Linked DNA regions of Homo sapiens: all the other regions are linked to region 3. The links are contacts of gene promoters, found by promoter capture Hi-C in blood cells and fetal thymus (Javierre and others, 2016). All regions are on one chromosome and are shown on one strand. Each heading gives the region's core, a stretch centred on a gene start or on the middle of the fragment in contact. The rest is flanking DNA. Distances are from core to core; before and after follow the strand shown.

What was found. Contacts are between HindIII fragments. The CHiCAGO score rates a contact against its expected background, and 5 or more counts as called.
Region 1: a fragment that was not itself captured here is called in contact with the fragment with the promoter of STAMBPL1 in region 3 in 1 of 17 cell types (non-activated CD4 T cells); the score reaches 5.1 in non-activated CD4 T cells.
Region 2: a contact is called between the fragment with the promoter of IFIT1 here and the fragment with the promoter of STAMBPL1 in region 3, in 1 of 17 cell types (activated CD4 T cells). The highest score is 5.3, in activated CD4 T cells.

What each region holds. Positions count from the first base shown.
Region 1 is chr10:89,417,113-89,420,589 of GRCh38, forward strand. IFIT5 (interferon induced protein with tetratricopeptide repeats 5) reads left to right here. Exons shown (of 2, transcript NM_012420.3): 2 at 93-3,477. The coding sequence ends at 1,536. Among named protein-coding and RNA genes, the nearest start is that of IFIT5, 4.3 kb to the left of the region's middle. The HindIII fragment of the contact is 1,777 bases long and covers 758-2,534 here.
Region 2 is chr10:89,391,200-89,394,668 of GRCh38, forward strand. It overlaps IFIT1 (interferon induced protein with tetratricopeptide repeats 1), which reads left to right and starts at 1,424. Exons shown (of 2, transcript NM_001548.5): 1 at 1,424-1,518. The coding sequence starts at 1,514. It also overlaps a transcript of LIPA not described here. RefSeq lists a silencer at 259-420 and enhancers at 973-1,022, 1,253-1,302, 2,104-2,153. The HindIII fragment of the contact is 1,915 bases long and covers 1-1,738 here.
Region 3 is chr10:88,877,871-88,881,587 of GRCh38, forward strand. STAMBPL1 (STAM binding protein like 1) reads left to right here and starts at 2,375. Exons shown (of 11, transcript NM_020799.4): 1 at 2,375-2,768. LOC124902551 reads right to left here and starts at 2,794. Exons shown (of 1, transcript XM_047426134.1): 1 at 1,864-2,794. The coding sequence starts at 2,552. The coding sequence ends at 2,025. RefSeq lists a silencer at 2,264-2,393 and an enhancer at 2,974-3,083. The HindIII fragment of the contact is 2,730 bases long and covers 588-3,317 here.

The sequences.
Region 1 (3,477 bases), core at 396-2,895, 540 kb after region 3:
AAATTAGTTGTTATGCAAAGAACAATATTTAAGGTTTAGAAAATTATTTCTTGTATTTCTTCAAAAATTAAAAAGTATTTTATCTTTGACAGTGAAATTCGTAAGGACACCTTGAAGGCCATTCTGTTGGAGTTAGAATGTCATTTTACATGGAATTTACTTAAGGAAGACATTGATCTGTTTGAGGTAGAAGATACAATTGGGCAACAGCTTGAATTTCTTACCACAAAATCTAGACTTGCTCTTTATAACCTATTGGCCTATGTGAAACACCTAAAAGGCCAAAATAAAGACGCCCTTGAGTGCTTGGAACAAGCAGAAGAAATAATCCAGCAAGAACACTCAGACAAAGAAGAAGTACGAAGCCTGGTCACTTGGGGAAACTATGCCTGGGTGTATTATCACATGGACCAGCTTGAAGAAGCTCAGAAGTATACAGGTAAGATAGGGAATGTCTGTAAGAAATTGTCCAGTCCTTCTAACTACAAGTTGGAGTGTCCTGAGACTGACTGTGAGAAAGGCTGGGCACTCTTGAAATTTGGAGGAAAGTATTATCAAAAGGCTAAAGCGGCTTTTGAGAAGGCTCTGGAAGTGGAGCCTGACAATCCAGAATTTAACATCGGCTATGCTATCACAGTGTATCGGCTGGATGATTCTGATAGAGAAGGGTCTGTAAAGAGCTTTTCTCTGGGGCCTTTGAGAAAGGCTGTTACCCTGAACCCAGATAACAGCTATATTAAGGTTTTTCTGGCACTGAAGCTTCAAGATGTACATGCAGAAGCTGAAGGGGAAAAGTATATTGAAGAAATCCTGGACCAAATATCATCCCAGCCTTACGTCCTTCGTTATGCAGCCAAGTTCTATAGGAGAAAAAATTCCTGGAACAAAGCTCTCGAACTTTTAAAAAAGGCCTTGGAGGTGACACCAACTTCTTCTTTCCTGCATCACCAGATGGGACTTTGCTACAGGGCACAAATGATCCAAATCAAGAAGGCCACACACAACAGACCTAAAGGAAAGGATAAACTAAAGGTTGATGAGCTGATTTCATCTGCTATATTTCATTTCAAAGCAGCCATGGAACGAGACTCTATGTTTGCATTTGCCTACACAGACCTGGCCAACATGTACGCTGAAGGAGGCCAGTATAGCAATGCTGAGGACATTTTCCGGAAAGCTCTTCGTCTGGAGAACATAACCGATGATCACAAACATCAGATCCATTACCACTATGGCCGCTTTCAGGAATTTCACCGTAAATCAGAAAATACTGCCATCCATCATTATTTAGAAGCCTTAAAGGTCAAAGACAGATCACCCCTTCGCACCAAACTGACAAGTGCTCTGAAGAAATTGTCTACCAAGAGACTTTGTCACAATGCTTTAGATGTGCAGAGTTTAAGTGCCCTAGGGTTTGTTTACAAGCTGGAAGGAGAAAAGAGGCAAGCTGCTGAGTACTATGAGAAGGCACAAAAGATAGATCCAGAAAATGCAGAATTCCTGACTGCTCTCTGTGAGCTCCGACTTTCCATTTAAATACATACTCTAGGAAATTAGCTCTAAGTTTTTCCCTTCATTTTGGGTTCTCCTGTTTGTTTTTTTTTTATTATTTTAATCCCTTGTTTATTATAGAGCTAATATTTATTGAATAGTTATTGTGTACCAAGCATTGTGCTAAATACTTTATATGCATTATGATGAATCTTGTGCGGTTTTCTTTCTTTTTTTCTTTTTAATTAAAATACTATAATCCATTGAGAAATAGCAATATTCTAGCTATTGTAACTTCTAAAAATGGTATGGCCATTAGATCTGTGCTTTTTATCTCTGCTCTTTGAATTTCTCATATTATATAGTAAATATATTCCTACGTAAACCTTTGATACCTAGATCAGGAATACTCTTCCAGGAGTACAAAATTACATTATTGATAGTTAAGCTCTTAATTGTGTAGCTTGCAAAAGACAGCACTTTTTAGTTACAGATGTTTTGACTTTGATGAGGATATTTAGCTATCAATCTAATAGTCACCTAAAATATCTTTTTTGTTGGAAAAAAGTTTATAATAAAAAAGTTTGTCATCTCTAGTGACTTCAATAAAGAAAAAACTAGAAGAGGAGAAAAAGGATTTCCTCAAATTTTAAATATGTAACTTCAGGGATTCAATCCCCAAATGTTTATTAAGTAGCTAGAAATAATTATGTGGAAAAAAATGAATAATGGAAAATAGTGAGTCTCAAATTGTTCTCTTTTTTTTTTTAACTAAAACAAATCTGCAATGAATCTAGATGCAATTAATTTTATTCCTTCCAACTAAAATTACAATATTTTTAGGTTAAAATTATTGAGATATAAAGCAGCCATTGGGAAATTGGGAGAAATGATAAACAAATGGAAAAAGAAGATGTCCCTAACCTACACCCATAGATTACCAAGGTTTCAGTGTACTAGTTTTGAATCTGTTCTGAATGGAGTTTTTATACCCTCAATTTCTGGCCTTTGGCTATTTTAGCATTTCAAAGTGACTTCTATGAAGCTTTTTTTTTAATGTGAAATTTTCAGAATGTTGTTTTTTTCATGTAGATACTCCAGGAAGAGTTAAGCACTGCTTTCAGTTTTAATATCCACCTTGAGGGGTCGCTGCTTGAGGGCTCTTATCCCAGGGGACTTTTTAATTCGGATGTTACTTAATGTGGCTTCTCTAATGTAGTTTCTTTGATTACCGACTACACAATTATGTACCATCACAGTATTAGTGGAAAAGTACCATGTGATTTAATTCTCCATTCCTCCAATGTAACTCTTAAAATTATTATGTATGTGTGTGTGTTTTACTTTTTGTTTTTTATCATCTTTAAAATTTCTATTATGGTTTGATTATTATAAAAATAATGAATTCTCACTGTAAATTTCAAAAAAAAATTACAAAAGTATGTGAATTTAAAAATGAGAGCAGTCCTCTCACCCTACCACAGTTCCACACCCTCAAGGTAAACTTATAACTTATAATTTGATATGTAAACTTCCAGATCTTTTTTCTATGCGTAATCAGACATACATATATACTGCAGTGTATCTCACGTATTAATTTTTAAAAATCTTTTGTTTTACTTAATTCTGTTTTTATTATTATTATTATTTTGTTTGATCTATTAAGGAAGAACAAGGAAGGGAATGATCTTTACTCAAGAATTTCAGAAAGTCAGCACTGAAGTCCTGACCTATCAGTAGACACATTTGTCCCTTTCAGATATTTTAGGATATTCTAGCAAAGCAGGCCATTTCTCCCACCTGAAAGTACATAACTTCTATCACTTGCCACATAATTAAAAGAACTCACATTAAGCGGTTACTCAGACAGTTAATCATAGAAAAGATTATTTGCTTCATCAGTTCATAGAAAAGATTATTTGCTTCATCAGTTAACTTGTTTTTATAAATCAGGGCTGTGTTCATACACAGAAGGGGCCTGAGATT
Region 2 (3,469 bases), core at 174-2,673, 510 kb after region 3:
AACATTGTTTTTATATATTGTTATGATTATTTGAGACAGGGGCTCACTCTGTTGCCCAGGCTGGAGTGCAGTGGTGTGACCATGGCTCACTGCAGCCTCTACCTCCTGGGCTCAAGTGAGCCTCCCACCTCAGCCTCCTGAGTAGCTGAGACCACAGACACACACCACCACACCCAGCTTTTTTTTTCAGTTTTTTTGTAGAGTTGGGGTCTCCCTATGTTGTCCAGGCTGGTCTACAATTCCTGGGCTCAAGTGATCCTCCCGCCTTGCCTTCCAAAATACTGGGACTTACAGGCCTGAGCCAATGCACCCGGACAACAATTTTTTATTTTTTATTTATTTATTTTTTTAGACGGAGTCTCGCTCTGTCACCAGACTGGAGTACAGTGGTGTGATCTCGGCTCACTGCAACCTCTGCCTCCCAGGTTCAAGCAATTCCCCTGCCTCAGCCTCTCGAGTAGGTGGGACTACAGGTGCACACCACCACACCCAGCTAATTTTTTGTATTTTAGTAGAGAGGGGGTTTCACCATGTTGGCCACGATGGTCTCCATCTCCTGACCTTGTCATCCGCCCACCTTGGCCTCCCAAAGTGCTGGGACTACAGGCATGAGCCACCGCACCCAGCCAAGAATCATTATTTTTAACTTGATGACTGAAAATAATAATAATAATAGTTACCACTTATTTGCATGCTTCTATGTGCCAGGTAGTTGCTAACTATTTAAACTCAAATTCCATGAACTGTAGTGGAGGTTGTACTGGAATTTGATTCAGAATGACAGTGTCCATGATGGAGCAATAGAGGGCTCTCTATTTCAAACCATACCTCCTTGCTTTTACCTCCTGCCTAAGTCATCAGGGGTTAGAAGGCTTTCTAGGTATTGGTCTCTTTCCTTCATTCCTAAACCAGATTGGTTGCTTATTTCCGTCAAGCTGAAACCAAAAGTAAGCAACCAAAAAGCAACCAGCAACCAAAAGCCTTGTTACTCAATTAATTAAGAGTAGATTTTTATATTTGATAGTAGGTTCCTTCTAAATATAGAAACTGAAAATAGAGCTATCTCCTTCAATTCTCCTTTTTCTGTGTATTCATCCAGAATCCAGCCACCAACTGCCACAATAGGCAGCAATGGACTGATGTTCTTTAGGGAGGACGTGAATCTCGTTCCAAATGCTGGCCAGTCATTGGGTTTCTGCAGCACTAGAAACATCTATGGTTGCAGGTCTGCAGTTTATCTGTTTTAAAATAGAAACAAAGTTTCATTCCCCACCCCCCCCCGTCAGCAGGAATTCCGCTAGCTTTAGTTTCACTTTCCCCTTTCGGTTTCCCTAGGTTTCCAACTTGCAAGGACACACCCACAGCTTACACCATTGGCTGCTGTTTAGCTCCCTTATATAACACTGTCTTGGGGTTTAAACGTAACTGAAAATCCACAAGACAGAATAGCCAGATCTCAGAGGAGCCTGGCTAAGCAAAACCCTGCAGAACGGCTGCCTAATTTACAGCAACCATGAGGTAAGGATTTCTTTGCTCCTCTGCCATAATGTCTAAAGTTTTTGAAAAAATGGTAATTAAATACTATTTCAACAGGTTAGATCTCAGTGAGGTCAGGTTTTCTAATTCCTCGATTTGAGTATCTGCTTATGGACTGAATGTGTGCATGCATGTGTGTGCACGTTCACACATACATAAATTGTTTAATGCATTTTTATGTTTGTTAGCATGAACTTGAGGAAGCTTACCTCATGCTATAGCCCAAAGAAGGGGAGGGAAATGGGAAAAGAGTTTTGCAGGAAGGGAGAAAATGATCCCAATCTGAGAGATTCTTTCCCATCAGATTCACTTCTGTCTGATATGGGGAAGGAATGGACAGCTTGTCTGAGTAGAGGCATTGCTTTCTGCAGGTTCTTTACCACAGAGAAAAAGCAGGACCCACAAGAATGTGAAAGCCTCAGTCTTGCAGCCTCTCTGATGTCTTGTGGGTAATACAGTGGAGATGTGGTAGGAAAAGCTCACAGCCTTCCTCCATAGGCTTCTGGTCTCACTTTCTGCACTGCTGGCCTCTTACAACAGGTTTTCGCAATCAGGCTGAGCTTAAGATAAACAGATTGCCTCCTCCCTGGAAAATCTAGGCTCTTGGTACGTCCTTGACTGAAGATGATCCACATCTGCTTGGGAAGATCCGTATCTTCCTTACCTAAAGGGCCTAATGTGGGAATTTCTCAGCTGATTTAAAAACCATTACTTAGGCCGGGCAAGGGGGCTCATGCTTGTAATCCCAGCACTTTGGGAGGCCAAGGTGAGCAGATCGCCTGAGGTCAGGAGTTGGAGCCCATCCTGGCCAACATGGTGAAACCCCATCTCTACTAAAAATACAAAAATTTGGGCATGGTGGCACATGCCTGTAGTCCCAGCTACTTGGGAGGCTGAGGCAGGAGAATCACTTGAACCTGGGAGGCGTAAGTTGCAGTGAGCTGAGATTGTACCACTGCACTCCAGCCTGGGCAACAGAGCGAGACTCCGTCTCAAAAACAAACAAACAAACAAAAAATCCATTACTTAATACTGATTTGTAAATTTTCCCCTCAGTGCTCCAGTTGGCAAAATTTTGAAGAGGTAAAAATTCCAGAAAATGCACATTACAGGCCTATGATGAACCCTCCTCTGTAAACAGATGGAGTTGGTACTGATAATTAAAATAATAATAATATTAAATGTTATAAAGGTAGTTATCACTTCTTGAATTCGTATTAAGTGACAGCCTGGCTTCTAAAAGTGTTATGTAAATTATTCCATTTAATTCTCAAAAGATACTTATAAGGCAGGTACTTACACAGTCATGCATCGTGTAACAATGGGGATACACTCTGAGAAATGCAGCTGTTAGGCAATTTCATCATTATGCAAACATCAAACCTAGACGGTATAGCCTACTACACACCTAGGCTATAAACCTGTGCAGCATGTTACTGTACTGAATACTGTAGGCAACTGCAATACAATGGCAAGTATTTGTTTATCTAAACATATTTAAACATAGAGTACAGCAAAATTGTGGCATTAAAATCTTATAGGACCACCACCAAATATGTGGTCCTTTGTGGACTAAAATATCATTATGCAGTGCATGGCTGTATGATCCTGATTTTACAATAAGGAATCTTAGATTTAGAAATGTTAAGATCACACAGACAATAAGTGGTAGCTTTGAGATATGGATCAGGATCTCTACATTCAATGATATTTCATTAAACCTTTAAATCAATGTTTCCCAAAGGGTGTCAGTGGGGGCTCATGTGATTATTTCAGATGGCAAACTCATTTGCTTTTATGTTTTCCTGCTTTTATGTTTATGTCAATATGTACTACAGGAAAATATATATATATATATATATATATATATATATATATATATATATATATATAAAACTTGAATTTTATTCAGGTTAGCAATGTGATTTTTTAT
Region 3 (3,717 bases), core at 1,125-3,624:
TTCACTACAAGTGTGGTCAACTCTGATTTTCAAGGGAGTAATTACTTGCAAATTATACCCTTGCTGAATTCAGGAGGTCCGAAACCCTGTTCTACCATATCAGAAAATAGCCCAGGATTTCCTCACTGCTCTGCCTTCATGTATTCTGTAACTTGAGCCCTCATTTTCTCATCTGCAAAATAATAGTGCTTATGTGTATTTGCATATAGATTTGAAATCTTCATTCAAGGTTTAGTAGGGTAAAATTGTCTCAAAAATAAGAGAAACAAAAGTTCTGGAGCAAAAAGAAATCTGGATTTTAAATTACTATTGAGATTGAATCTTTAAAAATGCAAGTAAAACTATAGGTCACTTAAAAATTCTCTAAGATAAAAGTTGTATAAATACACTGGTGCTTGCTCTTCATTAACTCAATTAATAAAAGGGAAATAAATCACACCTAAAGTTGCTATATCAGAGTTCTTGGTCACAACGCTGAAATCATTTCTGGCTAACTGAATCAGAAGAGAAATATATTGGAAAGTCGTTAAGTAGCATACCAAAGAGACAGGAAGTTTGGCAAATAAGTCTCCTTACACAGGAAGGGAAGCTTAGCAGCTGAAATTACAACAGGTGGGTCATCACACCATTCAAATAGCTCACTTAGGACACCACTGACATTGCCGCAGTGTTACCTCTGGCACTACTGTCCCTGAACACAAAACCCACTTCACAGATAATGGAGACATTTCTAAAATGTTTCTTCTTGAAACACATAATCCAGATTCAAATAACTGTACAGGAGTCTCTGAGGCTGATGTTGGGTCACAAAATGGTACTCTAGCCGCTGGGGAGCAGGGGACGATGGGTATTGGGCCATTTTGGCTTTTATGAGAATTTGGATGCTAGATAGCAAGACCATGATCAATGACCACTCTAAATACGTACGTGGAATTTTTTGTTTCATAATGCTTTTTAGGAATCTGGCTAACCTTCTTAATTACCACTGAATTTTAAATTGTCCAGTAGGTCATGAGATTATCTGGTTCAATACTGCAAACTCAAATGCCTACCATATTCTCAAATGTCAGTGAGGTGGGGGTGTATGGGAGTGGTGGGGACTGTGGAAAACTGAAGAGTGTCTTCACAGTCTAAAGGCGACACCTGCTATTCAGCTTCAGCTGATGGTTGCTAGAACTCGCCATGGACCAAATGTCTGATGTTACGATTTTACAGAAAATGTGAAAAGTCTGAATTTCTGTGAAATTTCCTAACTTCAACATTTGGAACCAACTTAAAACTAAGCAAAACAACACTGTTGCTTCTTAAAAATCAAGGCTGCAGGCTGCCTCCAACAATCAAACTCTTCATTTAAAAAAAAAAAAAGAATCCAGGGAGATGAGGCTTAAGAAGGTGAAATGCTTGAGACCAAATAACTCAGTTGGTGGCTGAGCCAGGGCTAGAATTTTGGTTTCCAGAGGAAAGGCTAACTAAGAAAAGCCAGTGTTTCCCCACCCCACTCTGCAGCCATTTCTCTCACTTGGAAGTAAGCTCCCAACCAAGCTCAAGAAAAGCGACTCTATTTCATCCAGCAGCAGCAGTCTCCATAAAATGTTTATCAGTTAATAGAACCTGTGAAGCCAATAGAAACAGCTTTCAGTGTTGGATCAGAGTTTAAATTTCAGCTTCTACTGCTTTCTAGGTGAGTAACCTGGGATAAATTATTTTACTTCTCTGTCTCTCGTTCATGGAAAAAACAAAAACAAAAACAAAAAATGAGTCCCTTTTATATACAGGGTTGTGGCAGATGGACTAAGATTTTGTGTACCGACTGCCTGACACAGTGCCAGAACTGTAGTAAGAACACCACACGTGATAGTAACATAACATCCAGGAGATATTCTAATACTTCTTATTTTCCAAGTACACACAAATTGGGGGTAGGGGGAAGGGCTAAGATGCTTAATAGTGGGCGTAGCCAGTTGTGGATAAATATCAAAAAGGGAATCCTAACATGAAGTATAAGTGGGATTTTCACCAAAACCCTATCCTTCCCCAGACTCCAGTGACAGTTTAACGGTCAGCTGCATCAAGGCTTGTGTACTGTGCAGTCTTAAAAGGCACCACTCCTGTCCATCTCGGTGAAATTGATGGTGGAGCAAAAGGGAGTTTAGGTGGTTCCGGTCTGGGGAGAAGACGTGCAGGGTTTCAGATGCGAAAGTCGCACCCAACCGCTTCACTCGGGCTCTAGGCCATCCGCAGGGGCCCTGCTTCCTTCCACCTGCGAGCTTTTTCTGCAGAATGCGGGAAGCCGCCGCCGCCGCCACAGAGGAGGGGGCGGAGGCAGAGGCGGAGGCGGCACCCAGGGGCCGGGGCAGGGGAGGCCGGGACCATCGCAGTGACAATTTATTTTCCTGCAGCAGCGGCAGCAGGGACGGTTGCTGCAGGTTCGGGGTCGGCCGGCCTGCGCGTGGGCTTGCGAGGACGCTGTTCGTCCCCTGCGCTGGGGTGTCCGACAGCGAGGAGGAGAACGACGCACGGAGCCCGCGCGACTGGAACCAGCAAAGCTCCATCTGTCGGCAGAGGAGAAGGGGGAGGAGGCACGGCCGAGGCAAACGAGCGGACGCCTCGTCGCCGGGTGCCGGTATCACCCCGCTGCAACGCCTTCCAGCAAAAGCCACCGCGGCCCGGGTTGCAGCAGCCGGACGGATGCCAAGGCCACACGGCAGCCACGGGGGCAGCCGTCGCAGTCGCCGTCCCACACGGGCTGCGGACACCAAGGGTTGCTAGTGAGTAGCGGCGCGCGCGCGTGAGTGAGAGCGCGCACCGGACGGGGAAGTGCGCACGGCGGGTGCGTCTGCCTCGTGGCCTGGCGCGCGCCGGCCCTTCCGCTGGCAGCGTCCGGTCCCGGGCTGGCTCTAGGGGAGGAAAAAATGCACTTTGGCGGCTGATCGCTTCCTTCCTGCCAGTCATGCAATCGGCCGCCTCCATCGGCGCCGCCTGTATGCGCCCCTCCGCTGGGCCCTCTGGGTTAGTTTCACCTTGATAGGGAGGCAGGAAGACCTGGCTGCTGGTGGCAGGGCGGGACTCTGGCCGTGACCTATACGTGGGTGCGCCTGTTTTTTTGGTTCAGCCCTGGGTTGCAGCCTTGGAGATGATGTCGACCTTGGGAGAGACCACTGCACTGTCTCTAGCGGCGCGGTGTGGAGGAGGGAGGGGCGAGGGTTAGAAAAACGGACCTTTACCCCGGCCGAGCAGGTGCCATGCCTTTCCAGATGATGTTACTTTTATGCCCTTTATGAGCGACTAAGACATTGCCCCTCACCTGAATAACTTAAAGCTTTCGCTGAAAGCCCCCAGTGAGATGCACAAAGAAATGGAATGTCTCCAAAACATATTTTTTTCAGAACTTTCTCTAAAACAACCCACGCTGCTGATACCCCCAGAGCCTAAGGTGCCATAATTGCTGAAGTTTAAAAGAAAATTTATGTAAGGAATAAGTAATTCAGGAAACGGAACCCAATCTAGAGGTTTGAAAAAAAAAATCAAGTGCCTGGGAAGTGGGGTGGGGTGGCTTGCTTCCTGGAAATCAGTGTTCGGTAGTAAGTAAAAAAGACAGCTTTCAAAGTAAGCCCCAGTGAGCACACTGCTTTCCAAACATCTTGCTCATTACTGACAATAACATGAAGTCCTGGATTTTAAGCTATTTCCGAAGACATAATAGATATCACTAGGATG